Linked DNA regions of Homo sapiens: regions 1 and 2 are each linked to region 3. The links are contacts of gene promoters, found by promoter capture Hi-C in human tissues and cell types (Jung and others, 2019). All regions are on one chromosome and are shown on one strand. Each heading gives the region's core, a stretch centred on a gene start or on the middle of the fragment in contact. The rest is flanking DNA. Distances are from core to core; before and after follow the strand shown.

Region 1 (3,326 bases), core at 518-3,017, 270 kb after region 3:
AAGGTTAGGCTGGCACTGGGAGCTCCCTTCTTCAGGGGTCAGCTCCCCATAGGATCTGCAAGGAAGGTGCAACAGGATACTCCCTTGAGCCATGTGACACTCCATGACAAAGGCACCCCCAACTATGCCCCTGGGTGTCAACCTCCCTATCCTTTTCTGGTTCATGACCTCGAGATGCCTCCCAAGGCATCTTGTCTGAATTCTTGTGTTCCGAACCTTGGCTTGTTATATGTGGCGCACTTTATGCAAGTTACACAAAACTGGACTCCAGGCGTGGTGCTGCATGCCTGTAATCCCAGACACTCAGGAGGCTGAGGTGGGAGGATTACAAGCCCAGAAGTTTGAGTTCAGCCTGGGCAACATAGTGAGACCCCATCTCTTAAAAAAAAAAAAAAAGGGAAAGAAATAACTTAATTCTTTTTTTCTGGCATAGAGAGGTTCCAAAGACCAATCCTGAAGCTTGGTAAAGGACTACAGCTGTTACCCCCACATTCTATCAGGCTATTAAGACTCACTCAGCCGCAACATGGCCAGGCCCCCACACCAAGTTAGGCAAGCTACAGATACCAAGGAGTAGGAACTGCAAACACAAATACAGGGCAAACTGCAGGTACCTAATCCTGACACGTCACCTGGCTGAACTTTGGTAGCAGAAGCCCAAGGAACACAGACTTATGGCTTTGTGTATATAGACATTGTCCTGTAGTCCAAAGGATGTGACTCTGTGGCAGACGGGAACCTAGAACATTGGACATTTATTATATTACATTAACTACCTTGCTTGCTTCCAGGTTTCTGGAAGTTTTGGTAACACAGCTAAATACTAGGGCCTAGTTTTTGCTAAGAACGTGGGTAGCTCTGACATTCCTTTGTCCATTAGGCAGATCCACTGTATAAATGGAAACATCTGTATTTTAAAGATTTTCCTAGCTGATTTTATCGAAATGTTAGAGATTTTCCTGGGGCGAGGGATAGCTGCAAGTTATTACAGTCAGATTTCTAAGCACGATGATTATTTCTGGTGGCAAACCATGCGTGTGGAGGCCGATTCCTCCTATCAGCCTAACGATTAAGTCAACATGCTAAGCAGCCACACGGGGGCTACTAAGTGACTCGCACGGGGGAAGCAGGCAGGGAGACAGATGGGCAGGGGAGGGAATCTGGGGCAATGCACAACCTCCACCCAGGTAGAGAGAGGGTCTGGGGGATAGGTCTGTGTCACTCAAGTAAGAGCGACACTTCTTGGGGTCCAGTCCCGTCCTGGGCTTGCCCGGGAAAGACCCCAGGACAAATTCGGCCCCCTTCCAGAGTGTCCCCATTCTGCTCCCACAATGGGACAAGCCGGCCTCTTCTCCAGTCTGGGCCCCCTTCGGCCCTCCTCCCTCCTCCTGTCTCTTGGGCCCCCAGCCATGCTCGGCCCCCAGTTGACTTCTTCAGTACCTGCATTGCTCAGCGTCTTGCACTCTGTGCGTGCCCCATCCGCCGCTCCTCCTGTCCCGTTCCTCCTGCCTCTCTCAGCCCCACTCACTCTCCCACTGCCCCTCGTGCCCCCATCCAACCCTCCTCCTGCCCCCCAACCTCTGTCTCTCAGTCCCAAGCCAGTCAGGGAGCCCTGACAGCAGCTACCCGGACGGCAGTGCGAGCCCCTTACCCGGGCGCAGCAGGCCCCCGGCGGCCTGGTGGCCCTCGGACAGTAGGAAGGAGCCTGAGGCCCGGCGCGGGGACGTGGCCGGCAGCGCAACCCAGGCAGCTCCGGGCAGCGCGCCCTGCCCGGGCCCCGCCCAAACGCCGGAAATGACGTCACGGAGGGCGGGGCGGGCCTGCTGGCCGGGGCGAAGAGCGGCTGCGGCGGGGCCTGTGGCGAACGGAGGCGAGCCGGAAGTGGGGGGGTTGTCTGCTCTCAGGCCCCGCCTCCCCGGGGCCGGCTCGGGCCACTTCTTGCGCGCTGCCAGAAGGAGCTATTTTGAGCAGGTCTGTGGCGGAAGTGGGTGTTCCCGGGTCTCTGCTGCCCAGCTGTGCCCGCTGCCGTCTTGGGGTCCCGGGGTGCGCGGGTTGGGCTGGGTGAGCTCAGAGGCACCTTGTCGGCAGCCGAGCCTGAAGAGGCGACCTCGAAACGCCTCGTGAGACCTTTCGCGGGCACACGCCCTTCGCGTTCCTCCGCTTCCTCCCACGTTTCTTCAGCCCCTGGCGGGGCGCTGGGGTGCCCGGTAGTTAAGGGTGGGGTGGCAGCGAGCGTTTCTGTGCACCCGCAGCGTGCCACGCCCGTGCTAAGCACTTTGCCTATAGAGCCAGTGGCTTAATTCTGCAATAGCACAGTGAAGAACTTCGCCTCATTTTACAGACGTGGAAACAGGCTCATCAAGTGCTCTGTAATTGTAAAACCTGGGATAACAAAGGAGCAAAACGCAATTTAGAGGCAAGTGTGTGGGACTTGACTTTGGTTAGAAATAGGCTTTGCAGGCCAGGCGCGGTGGCTCTTGCCTGTAATCCTAGCACTTTGGGAGGCCGAGACGGGCGGATTATCTGAGCTCAGGAGTTCGAGACCAGCCTGGGCAACATGGTGAAACCCTGTGTCTACTAAAATACAAAAAATTAGCCGGGCGTGGTGGCGTGCGCCTGTAGTCCCAGCTACTCGGGAGGCTGAGGCAGGAGAATTGCTTGAACCTGGGAGGTGGAGGTTGAAGTGAGCAGAGATCGTGCCACTGCACTCCAGCCTGGGCGACAGAGCGAGACTCTGTCTCCAAAAAAAAAAAAGAAAGAAAGAAATAGGCTTTGCAAGTTAGTAGTTCTGTGACTGAATCCCAGTCTGTATAAGACCCTCAGGCATCCCCCGGTCCAAACCAAAACCTGTCTGCGAAGGATGATTTCACAGGAGCAAACCAAGACTTTATTTCCAGTTTTATAACCTGCCTTGGGGTCTTCGGCTAGGAAGCTAAGAGACACAGAAAGCTGAGATTGGGCAAAGACAGGATCTACCATCCACTCCGAGCTCTGGGAGCACCTGAAATGCGATTTGATGTCACCACCACCATCCCCAGTTCAACCACAGTTCATGTGTGGAATTTAACCTGCAAAGTTGGGTTTGCTGAGACCCAACGCCGGTTGGATCATGTGAAGATCAGATCCTTTCACTATGTATTTGCTTTAATTTTTCCAACTAGTTCGGATCTAACATGAAGTACAGTATTGAGGCTCACTCCAGAAGTGAAAATATACAATCGGCAGGCAGATTTTAGTTCTTTGCCTGCCCTTTTCAAAAATCAATGACTGGGCTGGGCGCGGTGGCTCACGCCTGTAATCCCAACATTTTGGGAGGCCAAGGCGGG
Region 2 (3,387 bases), core at 343-2,842, 360 kb after region 3:
TCCAGTGTCCATAATCTCATTACACCCGAGTCCTCATTTGCTGGGCACTGTAAGCATCTAGAAAAGAATAGCTGTTTCTCGGGTTGATGCCAAGTTTCATTTACTCTGAAAGTATAAATTATGAGCATTGTAAGAAGGAGCGAGTGCACATGGCCTGATTTGTATACAGAGGTTAAAGCGTTGGGCAGGAGAGGTGTGCTTTTTGCCAGGCATGGCTTCCTCCTTTCTTCCCTGGGGGAGACTTTGCCACTTGACCTGGGGGAGCCCGTGTGTCACCATCACAGGCTGTGTTTGGGAGGTGCCCTGTGCACGCCGGGAGAAATGTACGAGGGCGCCAGCTCCTGGGGCTCTTGACCTGGCCTCACTTGTCTGGTTGAAAGCAAATGGGAAGCCTGGCATGGTGGCGCACGCCTGTAATCCCAGCGCTTTGAGAGGCTGAGGTGGGTGGATCACCTGAGGTCAGGAGTTCGAGACCAGCCTTGCCAACATGATGAAACCCTGTCTCTACTAAAAATACAAAAATCATCTGGGCGTAGTGGTGGGCATCAGTGATCCCAGCTACTCGGGAGGCTGAGGCAGGATAATTGCTTGAACCCGGGAGGCGGAGGTTGCAGTGAGCTGAGATTACATCACTGCACTCCAGCCTGGGCGACAGACCGAGACTCCATCTCAAAAAAAAAAAAAGAAATTAATTGGGTCAGCAGCAATGACTGTCGGGGGACCCTCCTGATGGCTCCTCCACCCCGCTTCCCTGACTGCAGGCAGAAGGTGGTGGAGGGCAGCCTGACGCACCCCTTCGCCCTGACGCTCTCCGGGGACACTCTGTACTGGACAGACTGGCAGACCCGCTCCATCCATGCCTGCAACAAGCGCACTGGGGGGAAGAGGAAGGAGATCCTGAGTGCCCTCTACTCACCCATGGACATCCAGGTGCTGAGCCAGGAGCGGCAGCCTTTCTGTGAGTGCCGGCTGGGGCGCGGGGGCGAGGGTGCGGGGGCTGGGGGGAGCGGGGGCGCGGGGCAGGGGAGTGGGAGGATGCGGGGGCGTGGGGGTGCGCGGGCGTGGGTGGGGTGGGGGGGCAGGTGACCCCTCCCTGCAGAAGCCCATGCTCTGGGGGGCCCCCTCTCTAAAGGGGTACCTGCTGCAATGGAGGGAGGTGTGTGGCTGGCTGGGGGACACGGGCCTGCAGAGGACCCCTCTGCAGAGCTCATGGGGGCTATTTCAGGCTCAGCAGTGGCAAGGGGATTTCCAAGGAAGGTTGCCTCGTTTTCAAGGCCCAGAAGAAGTTGTCTGTGTGTGTGTGTATATGTATTTATATACACATACACGTATGTGTGTATATATATATATGGTTATTTATATATACATATATATGTGTGTGTGTGTGTGTGTGTGTGTGTGTGTATGTATTTTTAATAGAGATGAGAGATTTTGCCACGTTGCCCAGGCTTGTCTCAAACTCCTGGGCTCCAGTGATCCTCACACCTTGACTTCCCAAAGTGCTGGGGTCACAGGTATGAGCCACCATGCTTGGCCCTGCAAGTCGCGTATTTATCAATGAATAATCTGCCCAGAATCAGCAGTTCTCAGCCTGGGGGCCACGCTGGGTTGTGACAGAGGTCCCTGATGGGGAAATGCACCAGCTTCTGTGACAGTGGGGCTGCGGCTCTGGGGACAGTGGCCCACTCCCACAGGGACCAGGGATGGAGATTTCTGGCCAGGCCATTATGGAAGGTTTGGACTTTGAATTGAAATGTGGGGCCTAGGGGTGCCAGCTGTTCCCAGAGCAGGACACAGGAGGGTGGGGCTCTCTGGAGCTGTTTCCTGGTGAGAAAGTCGTGGTCACAAAACCCATCTACACTTGGGGCAGCATGAGGGAGGGAGAGGTTCATTTTGATGAGTTTGTTGTTCCAGTTATATCCGTATTTTGGGGCTGCTACACCCAGCTTTCCCCTGGTTTGAATGAGGTGCTGGAAGCATTTATCGAGTTCCGTTCAATTGCTGTTGGTCATAGAAGGGCTTGGGAGAGTGACAAGCTTGGCCATCCCAGCAAGAGGGACAGTGTTCCTATGGAAGCTGCTGGGTCCACACATAGCACAAAGACAAGACAAGCCTTTTGCCCAGGAGCCCATTGTCTCTGGGGTTCCCGTCACTACCACACAGGCAGGTCCTGACCCCGGCCATTGGAGCGTGGGGGGCAGCCTTTGCAGAGGGGTGTCCTTTGGGGGCTCCGAGGAGCTGGGGAGGGTGTTCTAGTCATAGGAGCTTGGTGGGAGGAAGCAGATGGGGAGATGTCACTCCATGGGCAGGTCACATCTGGGTGTGAGGGTGGCCAGGAAGGTCACGGCTGGTTTTGGGGAAATTGCAGGCCGTCTGGCCAGGCTGAGGGCCCCATGTGGACGGGCCAGCGATGAGGCAGGTGGAATGGTGCCAGCGGGGAGGTCCCTGATGCCACTTGAGGCCGATGTTTGGGCAGAGGGACACACTGGAGGCTGTCACGGGGGACGAGGCAGGATGTGACTCATTCAGAAACAAGTGACGGTCCTCTTCTGGAACCTTCTCTCACTCTGTCCTGGTTTTCTCAGTCCACACTCGCTGTGAGGAGGACAATGGCGGCTGCTCCCACCTGTGCCTGCTGTCCCCAAGCGAGCCTTTCTACACATGCGCCTGCCCCACGGGTGTGCAGCTGCAGGACAACGGCAGGACGTGTAAGGCAGGTGAGGCGGTGGGACGGGACGGGGCGGGCGGGCGGGGCGGGGCCTGGCGGGAATGGGTTGCGGCCGCCGGGGGTGCCCCAGAAGGAACCTCGGCAAACCCGTTCGAAATGATCCACTTGGCGGGTGTGGTGATTCAAGTCTGTGGTCCCAGCTACTCGGGAAGCTGAGTTGGGAGGATTGCTTGAGCCCAGGAGGTCAATCCTGTTTTGTTTTGTTTTATTTTTGCCCCAGATATTTTCCACTTTTTTACTCTCCGCCTTGGTCCTCAGGCACTTGGTGCTTCCTGGGACTGTGTTGCAGTGAGGCATGGCTCTTCTCCTCTGGGGCACCGGCTGAGGATCTTTCTTTCCAGGTGTCGGTTCGGGGCGGGCCCTTCGGGAAATCACACACGTTCAGGATGCAGCTCGCCTTCGGGGATGCTCCCGGGCCTGGGATAGCCAGTCTGGCCTCTGGGGCTGACCCTGGGGCCTGGCAAGCGAGGGGGTAACGAGAGGTGTCAGGAAAGCGCCATCCCTGGGACCAGTCCTCCCCGTTTCTGTAGCGTGATGGGGCCCAGCTTGCAGAAGGTGGTGGGGGACAGGGCCTGCTTCCTGTGCCGGTGTCCCACTCGGGAGGGCAGGGGGCTTCCAAGTGGGCTGGCTTCCACACTCAGGAACAGTCCTAAGGGCAG
Region 3 (3,724 bases), core at 1,046-3,545:
TCGTAACTGTGAAGGCTGTAGAGTAGGCTAAGATATGCTCAGTGAAAAGAAGGAAGCAAGCTCTGGGCACTGTGGCTCATGCCTGTAATCCCAGCACTTTGGGAGGCCAAGGCAGGAGAATCACTTGAGGTCAGGAGTTTAAGACCAGCCTGGTCAACATAGTGAAACCCCATCTCTACTAAAAGTACAAAAATTAACCGGGTGGCAGGCGCCTGTAATCCCAGCTACTCAGGGTGCTGAAGTAGGAGAATCGCTTGAGCCTGGGAGGCAGAGGTTGCAGTGAGCCGAGATCACACCACTGCACTGCAGTCTAGGTGACAGAGCAAGTATCTGTCTCAAAAAAAAAAAAGTAAGCAAGCAAAAGCAAACATAGCCCGCTTGCATACACACACACACACACACACACACACACACACACACGGGCACGTCCACACACGTGCTCTGGGGACAAGGATGTGAATGTAATCCATGCATGCTGGTGGGACAGCATGGGTAGCCGATTTCCTGGAGGGCTTAGATGGGGTTTCTTTTTTATGATTTCAGTTATTCTAATCCTGCCTGTGCAACGGGAGATGTTTTAAATTTTCAAATTTTTGTTTAAATGGAGTTTTCTCTTGTTGTTTTGTTTGTTTGTTTGTTTTAAAGATGAGGGAGCTCAAATTCACCTAATTTGTCCACTGGTCTCCAGGTCCCATCAGGGAGGGCACTGTGGACCGGTGATGGGGAGGCTGAACCACATACCTCCAGGGCTCAGATCTGGGGGAGAGCTCTGGGGCACCTGCCCAGCCATGCCTGTCTGTGAGAAACACCCCCTCAGCACCAGTCACAGCGACTGGGCCAGGCATGGGTGCCTGGACTTTGCTGACCGATCAGAAACCCCTAACTCTACAGCCCCAACCCTGAAGGCCACAGTGGCTCTGGGAGGCCTCCAAGGAGGCCACGAGGAGGGTGCCACGTGAGGCCCAGGCAAGCTGGGAGGGAGCTCAGCCCGTGTGAATCTGTTGCTGGAAACCAAATGTGCCCTGAGGCAAAGTTCCTGTTTCCTTCCCCAAATCCGAGTTTCACCCCCTTCACTCTCAGGCTTCCGGGTAGAAAAAAACCTCTCCCTTGTTCCCTCGCCCCACAAACACCCCGGCAGATGGACACCTCCTGGCCCGCCGGCCTCTGTACCCCTCCGAAATGGGAGTACCGCAGCATCCCACAGGAGCAGCCGCGCCCACCTGATGAGCACAGGTGTGTAGAGCAGGGCGGCGATGGGAGTCACGTTGATGCCCATCAGCATTTTGCTGTCGATGTCGGGCAGCCCCATGTTGCCATACTTCACCTCGCGGTAGGTCTCGTCGTAGTGCAGGATCAGCTGCATCTGCAGGAGGCCTGGGGACAGGACAGAGAGCGGCGTGCAGGGAGCAGCCTAGCTTTGGGCGCCACCGAGCAGAAGACGGCATGCAGGCCTCGCAGGGAGCTCCAATCACCGAAGGCATTCCCGCTGACAGCGCCCCTCAGGACAGCGGGGTTCCCGGGCTGCGCCACGCCTTCTGCCAGCCCGCGGCCACTTGGCCAGCTAAGCCCAGACCCCCACCCGCCTTGCTCCGCCGGCCTCCAATTCTGACGGTGGCAGGTCTGTCCGGGAGCCCGGACCCCCGTCCCCCACCCACACCGAGGCTCTGGCTGGGACCCGGGGACGCTGCGCTACTTGACCCCCCAACCCCACCCCCGCCGCGGGGGGCCGTGGCTGCAGCTGCGAGGGCAGCGGAGGGGAAGTGAGAGCGGGCGGGAGGCGGCGGCCCGCGGTTTCTGTTTCCCGGGCCGGGCTGGGAGCGGGCGGGGCGGCCCCGGGTCCCCGAGCGGCACCTACCCAGGTAGACGCCGTAGGTGAGCATGCCCCCGGCGCTGGCAGCCAGCACGTTCTTGAGCACGCCCAGGCGCTTGCGGCGGTAGTAGCGGCGCTCCTCCTCCTCCTCGTTGTAGTTGGGGTACGCGCCCACCAGCTCGTCCAGCTGCGAGCCACGCACGCCGCTCGCACCCGCGATCGCGCCCCGAACCCGTGTCCCCCGGTGCCCGCCGCCCCCCGGCCCGCCCCGCCCCCGCCGGGGGGACCCTGGCCCACAGGGGACGCCCGCGCCTCGCACTCCGGGTCCCCGCTCACCGGGGCCTCGGGCCCGTCCGGGACCCCGAGCAGGTCCTCGTCGCCCTGCGGCCCCGCAGCCCCCGCCATCGGGTAGAGCGGCGGCTCCGCCTCCATGGCCCGAACTACTGCGGACTCGCGGCGGTCGCCCCGGAGTCCCTGCGACCGCCCGGCCACTTCCTCCCGGCGGCCGGGACCTGCCCCCGCCCCGCCCTGTCCCGCCCTGCGGGCCGCCTCCTCCAGGACACGTGTGTGTGTATGTGTGTGTGCGCGCGCGCGCGCGCGTGTGTGCAGGGGCCTGCCTGTGTGTGCCCTCTGGGGTGTGAGTTCGAATCCCCACTCAGCCACCTCCTGGCCCTGTGACTTTAGGAATTAACTCCATTTCTTTGTGCCTCGGTTTCCTCCGTTTCCTCGACGGTAAAACAGAAATACATGGCACTACCCCCGGGGCCATGGCGGAACTATTGAGTTAATGCAAAGCCTTGGAAAAGTGCCAGGGTTGCCTGGCTCCCTTAAGCTCCCCTCAGGGTTGCCTGGGTCGTCCCCAGCCCCACCTCCAAGCCTGCTGTTACAGCTCATCAAAGAGCACTGCAGGGACAGTAGCGTCACCACCTGGACCCCACCTCCCACCACCGGACGCTACAGCCAGAGCCCACCTCCCATGTCCCCATCCTGCTCCAGTTTGGGCTGTGCAAATGGGAGCTTGAGTGGGTCCTGGGAGGTGGAGATTGTGATCCCCACTGAACTACATGGGGGACCCTGCCACAACCATGTAGTGGGGCCCAGAGCCACCTGCCCCCATCCTGCTGGGCACTGGATCCCGGGCTGCAGCGGGAGCCTGTGGTGGGGCCGACACTCCAAAGCACTGGCTACCACCGACCTGGCTGGAGCCACGGGGCCACTTTTGAAAATATCCAGATTCTCTCCCCTGGGTTCCTTCTGGTTTGAATGCTCTTCCTGCTGCGCCTCCCAGGTGGCTTCCTTCCCACTCAGCTCTCAGAACAAGAGACCATCCCTGCAGAGAATGCAGTCCCTTCACTTCCCTTCTGGTTTTCCATGCCCTCCCTGTGCACCCCCCTCCACCCACTGCTCTTTAGGTACATCCTCTCCCAAATGCAGAGGATGGCATTGGGCACCTACTGAGTGATCAATACTTGTGACTGGATGGGTGCATGAGTGACTGGATGACAAACACCTCCCACCCCGCAAGGATTGCTGGGAAGGTGGGGGGAGGCGTGAATCTGCAGTGGCTTCAGGCTTCCAGGAGGTAGAACTTTCTCCAGGTGACGATGCCCAAGTGCAGATGTGGGGAACAGACAGGTGGATTCATGCAGGTGGGTGGCTGGAAGTGGGAGACAGGAAAGGAGCCGAAGAGAGGGCAGGGCCCGAGGCGCAGGGGCAGGGAGGAGGTGGGAGAGTATGGCTATGGCGGGGGCCGTTCTCAGATGGCAGACACCAGCATCATTACACAGTATGATGAGAAAGTGCAATTCTCCTGACTCAGCCTTGTGAGTAGCTGGAATTACAGGCGTGTGCCCCTACACCCAGCTGATTTTTGTATTTTTAGTAGAGATGGGGTTTCACCATATTGGCCCAGGC

What was found. Contacts are between HindIII fragments. The study calls those that stand out against the background at their distance.
Region 1: the fragment with the promoter of C11orf24 here is called in contact with the fragment with the promoter of UNC93B1 in region 3 in 1 of the 25 tissues and cell types used here (small bowel).
Region 2: a contact is called between a fragment that was not itself captured here and the fragment with the promoter of UNC93B1 in region 3, in 1 of the 25 tissues and cell types used here (lymphoblastoid cells).

Annotation. Positions count from the first base shown.
Region 1 is chr11:68,270,206-68,273,531 of GRCh38, forward strand. C11orf24 (chromosome 11 open reading frame 24) reads right to left here and starts at 1,768. Exons shown (of 4, transcript NM_022338.4): 1 at 1,652-1,768. It overlaps LOC105369363 (a long non-coding RNA gene), which reads left to right and starts at 1,897. Exons shown (of 3, transcript XR_950248.3): 1 at 1,897-1,971. RefSeq lists a silencer at 1,566-1,965 and an enhancer at 1,877-2,731. The HindIII fragment of the contact is 13,528 bases long and covers 1-3,326 here.
Region 2 is chr11:68,362,986-68,366,372 of GRCh38, forward strand. LRP5 (LDL receptor related protein 5) reads left to right here. Exons shown (of 23, transcript NM_002335.4): 4 at 762-958; 5 at 2,586-2,717. Among named protein-coding and RNA genes, the nearest start is that of LRP5, 52 kb to the left of the region's middle. The HindIII fragment of the contact is 5,680 bases long and covers 1-3,387 here.
Region 3 is chr11:68,001,802-68,005,525 of GRCh38, forward strand. It overlaps UNC93B1 (unc-93B1 regulator of TLR signaling), which reads right to left and starts at 2,296. Exons shown (of 11, transcript NM_030930.4): 1 at 2,147-2,296; 2 at 1,856-1,997; 3 at 1,221-1,374. The coding sequence starts at 2,242. RefSeq lists enhancers at 849-1,048, 1,149-1,198, 1,299-1,348, 2,253-2,796, 2,797-3,339 and silencers at 1,649-2,058, 2,119-2,418. The HindIII fragment of the contact is 30,745 bases long and covers 1-3,724 here.